Linked DNA regions of Homo sapiens: region 2 is linked to region 1. The links are contacts of gene promoters, found by promoter capture Hi-C in human tissues and cell types (Jung and others, 2019). All regions are on one chromosome and are shown on one strand. The core of a region is centred on a gene start or on the middle of the fragment in contact, and the rest is flanking DNA. Distances in the headings are between cores, read along the strand shown. Region 1 holds the start of OR13C4 (olfactory receptor family 13 subfamily C member 4). Region 2 overlaps LOC107987105 (a long non-coding RNA gene).

Region 1 (5,103 bases), core at 335-2,834:
TTCACCCTGGCCACATGATATAATAATATTCTTTATCAAATTGTTCCATGTGTAGTTTTTGTGTTTTTGTTATTGAATTATGAACTTTTTGATGGTAGACATGTTGTGTCATACTTTTTCCACCCTTACTTGTGTTGGAAGAGGACTGTGCTCAAGTTAGGAAATCAGTAATATCATACCCATATTATAGCAGTCCAGCAAAAGTTTATCCTGCTTTCATAAAATGTTTCAATAGCATTTATTTTCTGAAGTATACTGAACAGCAAGATGTGGCCCTGGAGTATGCTGGCAAACACAAAAGAATTAGGCTTTCAGTCATTTTCCAGGTTGTTAAGCCAGTCCATATAATAACACAAAAGAAAATCTATTTGGATCAGAAATCTCTGGATACTCTACTAAATCACTATAGATAAACCAATGTCTTGCTACACAAAATGTGCCCTCATCTCAGTGGTTCAACATACCCTGGGAACTTAATAGACATGAAGAATCACAGGCCTTGCCCCAGACGTGCTAACATAAAATTTACATGTTAACAGTATCCTCAGGTGATTTATGTGCATATGAAATTTGAAAAATTGAAATTCCATCAAAGCTAAAAATTTTGGATAGTACTTTGCGAAAACAAGGTAAAATAACTTTTGGTGTTGCCATCCAAAGAGCTGAGCTTTAAGTTTCCCTTTGTACATATAGGCCACATTCTGTCTTTTACATTTGAGAAAAGCAAATTAAGGATAATGAGAAGATTCATTTGCTTTTGTAAAGTGCTGCACACACATACACACAAATATGTTTGACTATTATTCCTCTTTTTTCAGGTTTACTTAAATGAATTCTCAAGATTAACTCTGAAGCCATGGTAAAACAAATAGAGATCATGTATTGTTCTCCAAAGATTCTCCATCATATACTTGTAGAGCTGGTCTACACCATGATCTTGTCATAGGGAATAACAAAATAGTAAGAGTGGGATGTTAGAATGAGATCAACAAATAACTTTACCTTTGAACAGATGTTAAATTGCAGTGTGTGGGGCTCAATTTACTATTATCAAATATCTTCCCTATAAAAATACACATTTATCTGACTGGAAAGACATTCAGAGTTTTAGGCAGACAAACAAATGTATGTGAACATCTAACCTGCTTTAAAATTCTGAACATTTCTATTAAACGCTGGGTCAAAATTCTGGTTCTTGTTGAGTTGTCTTTTTTCTTCTTTGCAGCTCTCTCACTGGGCTTGACTAAATGAAGAAGTTAGGTTTGTTGTCTGCAATAATCTAAGGCTTTTAGAAAACTCAACTTGGGATGTCCTCAACAATAAGAAAAGTTGTGTCTGTATTTACTTCTGATCCTAGGTAGATCTTCACATATTAGATACAGGGCATAGAAACTCTAAACATCCTAGTGTGGCTGTATTCTAGGCACAAATACTATTGAAGATAACTCAATGGCAGAGCTTTAAAACAAACAGTCTCTATTTCACCCTAGAGTAATGTTTATTCAAGTTATTTTTTACATTTGTTGCTTGGCTGTGAAAATATTATACATTGGGTCTTCCTTTGGCATCCTGAAAGCTGGGACATGGACAAGATAAACCAGACATTTGTGAGAGAATTCATTCTTCTGGGACTCTCTGGTTACCCCAAACTTGAGATCATTTTCTTTGCTCTGATTCTAGTTATGTACGTAGTGATTCTAATTGGCAATGGTGTTCTGATCATAGCAAGCATCTTGGATTCTCGTCTTCACATGCCCATGTACTTCTTCCTGGGCAACCTCTCTTTCCTGGATATCTGCTATACAACCTCCTCCATTCCCTCAACACTGGTGAGCTTAATCTCAAAGAAAAGAAACATTTCCTTCTCTGGATGTGCAGTGCAGATGTTCTTTGGGTTTGCAATGGGGTCAACAGAATGTTTCCTCCTTGGCATGATGGCATTTGATCGTTATGTGGCCATCTGTAACCCTCTGAGATACCCCATCATCATGAACAAGGTGGTGTATGTACTGCTGACTTCTGTATCATGGCTTTCTGGTGGAATCAATTCAACTGTGCAAACATCACTTGCCATGCGATGGCCTTTCTGTGGGAACAATATTATTAATCATTTCTTATGCGAGATCTTAGCTGTCCTAAAATTAGCTTGTTCTGATATATCTGTCAATATTGTTACCCTAGCAGTGTCAAATATTGCTTTCCTAGTTCTTCCTCTGCTCGTGATTTTTTTCTCCTATATGTTCATCCTCTACACCATCTTGCGAACGAACTCGGCCACAGGAAGACACAAGGCATTTTCTACATGCTCAGCTCACCTGACTGTGGTGATCATATTTTATGGTACCATCTTCTTTATGTATGCAAAACCTAAGTCCCAGGACCTCCTTGGGAAAGACAACTTGCAAGCTACAGAGGGGCTTGTTTCCATGTTTTATGGGGTTGTGACCCCCATGTTAAACCCCATAATCTATAGCTTGAGAAATAAAGATGTAAAAGCTGCTATAAAATATTTGCTGAGCAGGAAAGCTATTAACCAGTAAGATCAAAGGGATATATGGGTCTTTTATGTATAATTAGCTTGCCTTAGCCATTTGACAATGTACATATGATATGGTTTGGCTGTGTCCCCATCCAATTCTTGAATTGTAGCTCCTATAGTCCCCATATGTTGTAGGATTGACCTGGTGGGAGGTAACTGAACCATGGGAGTGGGTTTTTCACATGCTGCTCTCGTGATAGTGAATAAATTTCATGAGAACTGATGGTTTCATTAAAAGCACAGTTCCCTTGTACCTGCTTTCTTGCCTGCCACCATGTAAAATGTGCCTTTGCTTCTCCTTCACCACCCACCATGATTGTGAGGCCTCCTAGGCATGTGGAACTGTGAGTCCATTAAACCTGCTTTTCTTTATAAATTACCCAGTCTTGGGTATTTCTTCATAGCAGTATGAAAATGGACTAATAGAGTAAATTGGTAACAGGTAGTGGGGTGCTGCTATAAGGATACCTGAAAATGTGGAAGTGACTTTGGAACTAGGTAATAAGCAGAGGTGGAACAGTTTGGAGAGCTCAGAAAAAGATAGGAAAGTGTGGGAAAGTTTGGAACTTCCTAGAGACTTGCTGAATGGCTTTGACCAAAATGCTGATAGTGATATAGACAGTAAAGTTTAGGCTGAAGTGGTCTCAGATGGAGATGAAGAACTTGTTGGGAACTTGAGCAAAGGTGACTCTTGTTATGCTTTAGCAAAGAAACTGGTGGCATTTTGCTTCTGCTCTAGAGATCTGTGGTACTTTGAACTTCAGAGAGATGATTTAGGGTATCTGGCAGAAGAAATTTATAAGTAGGTAAAGGATTCAAGAGGAAGCAGAGCATAAAAGTTTGGAAAATTTGCAGCCTGACAATGCGATAGAAAAGAAAAACCTATTTTTTGAGGAGAAATTCAAGCCTGCTACAGAAATTTGCATAAGTAATGAGGAGCCAAATGTTATTGCCAAGACAGTGGGGAAAAAGTCTCCAGGGCATATCAGAGACCTTCCTGGCAGCCCCTCCCATCACGGGACTGGAGACCTAGGAGGAAAAAATGGTTTCCTGAGCCAGGCTCAGGGCCACCCTGCTGTGTGCAGCCTAAAGACTTGTTGCCCTGTGTCCCAGCTGCTCTAGTCATGGCTAAAAGGGGCCAGGGTAAAGCTTGGGCTATGGCTTCAGTGGGTGCAAGCCCCAAGCCTTGGCAGCTTCCACATATTGTTGAGCCTGCAGGTGCACAGAAGTGAAGAATGGTTTGGGAACTTCTGCCTAGATTTCAGATTTATGGAAACATCTGGATGTCCAGGCAGAAGTTTGCTGCAGGGGCAGGGCCCCCATGGAGAACCTCTGCTAGGACAGCACAGAAGGGAAATGTGGGGTTGGAGGCCCCGCACAAAGTCCCCACTGGGGCACTGCCTAGTTGAGGTGTGAGAAGAGGGCCATTGTCCTCCAGAACTCAGAATGGTAGATCCACCAACATCTTGCACCATGCATCTAGAAAAGCCAGCCTGTAAAAGCAACCGAGAGGGAGGCTGTGCCCTGCAAAGCCACAGTGGTGGAGCTGCCCAAGGCCATGAGAGCCCACCTCTTGCATCAGTGTGACCTGGACATGGAGTCAAAGGAGATCGTTTTAGAACTTCAAGGTTTAATGACTACCCTATTGGATTTGGACTTCATGGAGCTTGTAGCCCTTTGTTTTAGTCAATTTCTTCCATTTGGAATGGGTGTATTTACCCAGTGCCTATATGCGCTTTGTATCTATGAAGTAACTAACTTGCTTTTGGTTTTACAGGCTCATAGGCAGAAGGGACTTGCCTTGTCTCAGATGAGACTTTGGACCATGGACTTTTAAGTTAATGCTGAAATGAGTTAAGACTTTGGGGGACTGTTGGGAAGGCATGATTGGTTTTGAAATGTGAGGACATGAGATTTGGAAGGGGCTGGGGCAGAATGATAGGGTCTGGCTGTGTCCCCACCCAAATCTCATCTTGCTCCTCCTCTGACGTCTGCCATTATTGTGAGGCCTCCACAGCCATGTGGAACTGTGAGTTCATTAAACCTCTTTTTCTTTATAAATTACCCAGTCTCAGGTATTTCTTCATATCAGTATGAAAATGGACTAATACAATACTTGTATTAAAAGATCATCTTGTGTACCATAAATATGTACAATTTTTGTCATTTAAAATTAAAAGAAGCAGCATAGAAATGGCATTATTGTGCAACTATTGAGGACTTTATCTGAGAAAAGCAAAATTATGAGGAGAGATTTTTATTCTTTGCCTTCACTACCTTTGATCATCTAGAATCACTGAGGACAGTAATCTGCTGTTACTGAAATTCTAACAGTAAACAGATTCGAATGGGTTCTGACCCAGATCTCGTGAAGACAATAAATTCCTTCAGTTATTTTCTCTGGCAATATCCAAAACAAGTATATCTGGTGTATTTGTGGCAACACAGTAGAAAACACCAAACAAAAGCTTTGAAAATAGATGGGAGGAGTATAAATTCAAAACTACTTTAGTAGTATCAGGCAGGTTTATTCATGTTTTTAAAACTGTAGTTTCCTTATTTCC
Region 2 (5,841 bases), core at 1,376-3,875, 52 kb before region 1:
GAAGGAGAATGACTTTGGAGTTGGAAATACATGGATTAGGACCTCAGTTTCCTGATTTGTAGCTTGATGACCTCTAATAAGCTATAAAATTAGTGTTATAATAATCTTGCAGGACTGTTATGTGGTAAAGTTTAAAGGGTGATTATCTTGATTCTTGGCATTTAATAGGAATTCCTTAAAAAACGGTTAACATTGTTACATTTGATTATAAATCAGTGAATCTGAGTATAGTTTGCTTAATATTGATGCCAAAAATAATCACTTTCAATTGATTTTGGTAAATAAAACAGACATGAAATCATTTTGTTTCAGTATGAAGTTATATAAATCAGTGGAAAGAATATCAAAATGAATCACTGTTTCCAAAGAATGAAATCTATTCCTGATGAGTTGAGAAAAATATGTATTGCTTCTAATAGACAAAATTATAAACTTATTGAATTTGATTAAACAAAGTATTAGCAAGTTGTCTAAGATAATTTCATCTAAATTAGAAGAGGCTCTTTTTTTTTGGTAAGTGTATTCACGTCAATGTAGTTCAGCAAGCACGTTAGTAGGCACAAAGATGAGTAGGACACAACTCTGACGAGTCCTGAGTTCCTGCTTATTATGGCATTACTGTCAAACTCATAGAAGCAGAGGTAGAATGGTGGTTGCCAGGGGTTGGGAGTGGGGAAAATGGGGAGGTATTGGTCAGATGGTACAAACTTCCAGTTATTAGGTGAACAAGATCCAGCCTGGGCAACATGGTGAAATCCCGTCTCTACAAAAAATTAGCTGGGCAAGGGGGTGCATGACTGTAGTCCCAGCTATGGGGATGCTGTGGTGGGAGGATCACTTGAGCCCAGGAGATTGAGGTTGCAGTGACCCGTGGCTGGGTGACAGAGTGAGCTCCTGTCTCGGAAAAAAAAAAAAAAAAAGATGAACAAGATAACTAAAGTACAGCATAGGTGGTGATGGATGTGTTAATTAATTTGATTTTGATAATCATTACACAATGTATACATATATACCTTGAATATATTCAATCTTGACAATTGTAAATAAGATAAAATGGCATTTTGCATCAGCTTCCTAACTGGTCTCTCAACTTCCACTATTCCCTTCCTTCAGTGTATTTTCCAGGTAGTTGCATGGCAGATATTCTCAAAATGTGATACATTTCAAACCACTACTCTGCTTATCAGCATGTCATACCAGCTGAGATTTGTTAAATGATTGATTGTTGCCTATGTCTTACTTCTTAATTAAAAAATAAATCCCTGTCAGGGCCTAGTTTCGCAATCATAGCAAACTGGGAAATGGTCACAACTTGGTGTCTTGTGAGAATACTCTTCTGGACAGTGAAATTTGTCTCAAAATGAGAGAAAATGCTACAATCTGACTACATGTTCTTCTTTTTCACATGCAGCACAGGTTCCTATAAAATAAACCAGAAAATGTTTGAGAGAAGCATGGCTCATACTTCCAAAGCTCAGGACTGTCATTCCAGCAACATTCACTAGTATGTCCTAGAGCCTCAGCTCCCTAAAAGACCTGAGCTCTTTCAAACCAACCCAATAGCCAGGGCTGAACTAGAGCATCATGCTTCTCCTGGAGCTCTGCGTGAAGTGGGGGTGGGTGAAGAGCATAGTATGGCAGAAACACTGGAGATGGAAGGTCAGCATGGTCCAATTCCCTTCTCACTGCAGATGCCTGTGTCAAATGCTACCAGATGTCAAAGGGACAGATACAGATACATTTTTAGTTGCGATTGGTGCTAAATAATGTTAATAATGGTATAATTATTTGAGACATTCAAATTTAAGTTCTCAAATTTCATCACAAATTTGAGCAATCATGACAAAAAGTTAAGCAGCATGATCAACCCTTGAACACTTGCTCACATTTGTGTTATATTCAATATAATATACTCTCAATGAAGCATCTCATAGATACTTATGATACAACCTCTGCTAGAAAGCTTGGGTATCCTCACTTAATAGAATATCACCTATATAGATTCAGATGAATAAACAGTTTGTTGTTTGGGGGTGGTCATAGTTTCCACAGTGATTCTGAATCAGCATGATGGATAGTCAGATTACAAAGGCATGCTGATTAGTATGATCATTTACTTACCATTCTTTGTTTATTTGCCAGTCATCTTACTGGCCCTGTGCTCTTACTTTGTGCCATCTTTAAGTGTCTTTGTAGATTACGTAAATCAGAGTTGGGAAAAAAAGTCTTAATGAATCCTATCCTTGGTGCTGCAGGATTGTCCTTTATATTGTTCCATCCCATGGCTGTCCTGGATATGTGAACAGTGCAGGAGAAAAAACTCTCCATTCCAAAAGTTGGATCCATTCTATTTCCTTACAACTCTAATTCTTTTTTTTTTTAAATCATAACATTAATTATGTAGGCCCTGAATTAATTTCCCAGGATGAAATTGAAATACCTGAATAATTTAATGTATTCTGGGGTCACAAACTCAAATATCTTCACTGCTATGCAATTGATGTATTTGAATGAAACAGACTGGATGTGAAGCAATATAGAAGGGTGAGGACTGTGGCAAATCTCATTAATTCCATGTGACCAAACAAAATACATGTGTTATCATATTCCCTTTCTCACTAGTTTGTGACTCTATGTCTCTATTGGAATAAGTCTTCTTTAGCCTGTCTAATTACATTTTCTAAATGACTTGGTGATGGCAGTTCATAGAGGACCGCTCTCTTTACCAAGAATAAAGTGATTATCCATTTTAAATTTTCCACATGATGATCTCATACGCTCCTTTTTTATTGTTTAGTTACAACTAAAGAGGAGAAATCAATCTCCTAGGAACAGCCCTAGATTCCCTTCAGAAAACTTGTGGAGGGAAGAGTGTTGTTAAAAAGTTACAAGTTCACTTTAACAAGCTTGACTTTAGACTGTTAGCAGGCACGTGGGATATCATCCCTATGTAACCTATTTGTACCAGAGAGAAGTAGGTCAGTCAGCTTTTAATGATGTCCTTTGAGATGTAGTTGCCTGCTCAGGTGTAAATATTAGACTGTGTTTTATATTCCTGTGGGAGAAAATTACCAGGCTAGAGATAACAAATAGAAAAGAAATGGTCTTCCTGAGTTGGTTGGCCTGTCTGGAAGCACTCTGTTTTACACGGTTAAAGGTCATATAGAGCTGTACATTGTCATTATCTATTTGCTACAGAGGTGGATAGAGAGGTCTTGGCAGGTCTTTTAGCAATCAGAAAAAAATGGAGCGCTACGGTGCGGTAATAAGAAGTGTATGAATTTTGGAATCTCTTTAGTTGCACTCCACCCTCCACAGTGTGGCTTCCTAGCTGTATGACCTAGGGCAATTCATATAACTTTTTTGGACTACCTGTTCTTTATTGTGTAAATTATGTATATCTTCAGGTTTTTATGAGGATTAAATGTATTTGTGACATAAATGATGTCTAATGTGTTCCCTTACCTGAGCTACAGAAAACATAAGTCACTGAAGTGGTTGTTTCATTTTTAATTAATTTGCAACGAGGAAAAGTCGCCTTCTTCGTTTTCCCATTTCTCTAGAAACCTTATGGATGTTGGTCCAGAGACAGTCAAAATAATTTCCTCTCTAGGCTCAGCAAAATAATTGCTCTATCGTCTTTGTTTAGAGTCCTACTGATCTTGACAACTTTGGACTTTTCACTGGTGTAGAGTTTCCTCTCCAATATGCCCAAGAGGAACCATTTCTGAACTCATTGGGTCAGAGTCTTTCTTTCTACACGGGTATCTCTGATATTTTTGATGTTAGTATCTCTAATATCCATTCTTAGAGTTAGGTTAGTCCCTTTGGCTTTGGAGGCTCTTCATTTTGTGATCTCTGAGACTACATAGCCATGCCTCTTTTTCCACCCCTTGGACAGCCTGCTTGCCTCTCTTTTAGTGCTTGTATTTCTTTCTTCTTTAGAAGGTGGGGTGAAGTTAGTAACGGTTGCTCTACTTTTCTCATATTCTGCATTACCTATAATATTTGCATCAAGAATTACACCATCTATAGCATCAAATGGAATGTCCATCATTAGTGTTTTAATTTGCATCTCCATATACCGGCTGGATTCCATCAACCTGGTGATTCGCTATCACCTCAAGTAAACCTGCTTATAATTAACCTCCCCTATTTCTCCACCTCCTTGATTTGTTGAACTAAGCATCCTTTCTCTACAGTGAGAGAAATGCTGTAAATGTGGATGAGTGAGCTGGTACATTTAACCTTCACAGTACATCAGAAAACTGAGGTTCAAAGACATTAAATCACTTGCATAGGCAAGCAAGATAGATGTGGAGGTGAGATTCCAATCTAAGCAGTTTGACAACATATTTAGTCTCCTTACCACTAAGTTTTTCTGTCTCTCTTAATTAACAAAAATTTCTTGCACCCTCTCATCTTCCCTAAAGTACATCGCGCTGAAAACCCATGACCCCAGGTTTATTCAGCAGTTTTTCTGGTTAAAGCCCTTGGTCCTAGCGCTTACTGTCCTTTACCTGTGAGTACAGGGATATCCATAAATTTCTCAAGAGGATGATGCAATACTGGGATCAAGAAAAGGTCAAACTATTATCCACTCTACATCACGGCCACAATCATCACAGGACTTGGTCATCATAGTCCCCCGAATTAATCTAAGTATCCAGTTTAACAGCTTTAGAGAAATACCAAGGTAAAATCCAGTAACTTAACTCTCTTTATTAACTCTCTTGCCTTCTAATACCTTTGGATTATTTTTCATGACTCAGAAGCAACTGGACTTTCAGATGTTTCCCTCCTGACTAGCAGGCATCTAGAGAAAAGAAACATAGCTTTTCCACTTAGAACCTCTAGGAATCTTAGTCTCTTCAGCTGTAAATTAAGAACAAGAAAATATAATTTTCACTATTACTATGAAGATTTAATTAGAAATAGTATAATATGAATAAATAGCAAAATGCTTAGCATATCCTCTCTGAATTCAAATTACTTAGATTGTTCCTTCTCATTGTCTTTCTTTCCTTTTGTTTCCTTCCTTTTTTCTTCCTTATGAAGTCAAGTTTTCTACAAGAATTTAAGTATAAACATTTTCCAGAAAAAGTTACTTTTTCTGAACCTGGTAAAGGTTAATATGCATTATTCAAGTACACTTTATTTCTTAGCAGGATTAATAGTGAATGTATTTAACAAAGACTATGGCATAGCTGCCACCCGATCAGAATGGACACCAACTATAAACAAGTAATACAGCTGTACTACTGGCTGCAGTCTTAAGCATGGTTTTATGAGATTTTAATTTGGGGGTTGTAATTTTAATTTTTTTGTTTGTAATTTTTTTCTCTTACCTATGAGCAAGGGCTGACACTGCTGGCACACACTAATTACTATGGCCACACTGGTTGTTTATGGCAAATATTTATTCTAATTTACTAGAACACTTGCCACAGAAGTTAAATATTTTGAACATCGCTGCTACTCAATCACTTAGAAGTGCGTTTTAATTGTCTCAGGTTATGGAACTTTTAAATTAATTAATTACCTTTAATTTAATCATATATAGGAAAGAGAATATGACTGTTTAATATTGCTTCCTTAAAATTTACTGATTCTTGCTTTCAGCCTAACATAATATCAATTTTTGCAAATGTCTCAAATGTGTTTTAGAAGAATCTATATTCCATAATAGTTGGGCTGATAAGCTCGTTAATGTTTTTGTTCAAATCTGTTGATCCTTATATTTGTCTGTTTATTCTTTCAGTGCTTAAGATGATATGTAGTTATATTGAGTTTTCTTTTATATATTGAGGCTGTTTTATTAGGAGAATAAAGCTTACAATT

Evidence for each region. The method cuts DNA at HindIII sites, captures the fragments that hold promoters and counts their contacts. A contact is called where the count stands out against the background at its distance.
Region 2: a contact is called between a fragment that was not itself captured here and the fragment with the promoter of OR13C4 in region 1, in 2 of the 25 tissues and cell types used here (liver and small bowel).

Annotation. Positions count from the first base shown.
Region 1 is chr9:104,523,690-104,528,792 of GRCh38, reverse strand. It overlaps OR13C4 (olfactory receptor family 13 subfamily C member 4), which reads left to right and starts at 1,584. Exons shown (of 1, transcript NM_001001919.1): 1 at 1,584-2,540. The coding sequence starts at 1,584. The coding sequence ends at 2,540. The HindIII fragment of the contact is 5,847 bases long and covers 1-4,348 here.
Region 2 is chr9:104,576,178-104,582,018 of GRCh38, reverse strand. The region is part of intron 3 of LOC107987105 (a long non-coding RNA gene); the gene reads left to right. Among named protein-coding and RNA genes, the nearest start is that of OR13C8, 9.9 kb to the right of the region's middle. The HindIII fragment of the contact is 3,489 bases long and covers 881-4,369 here.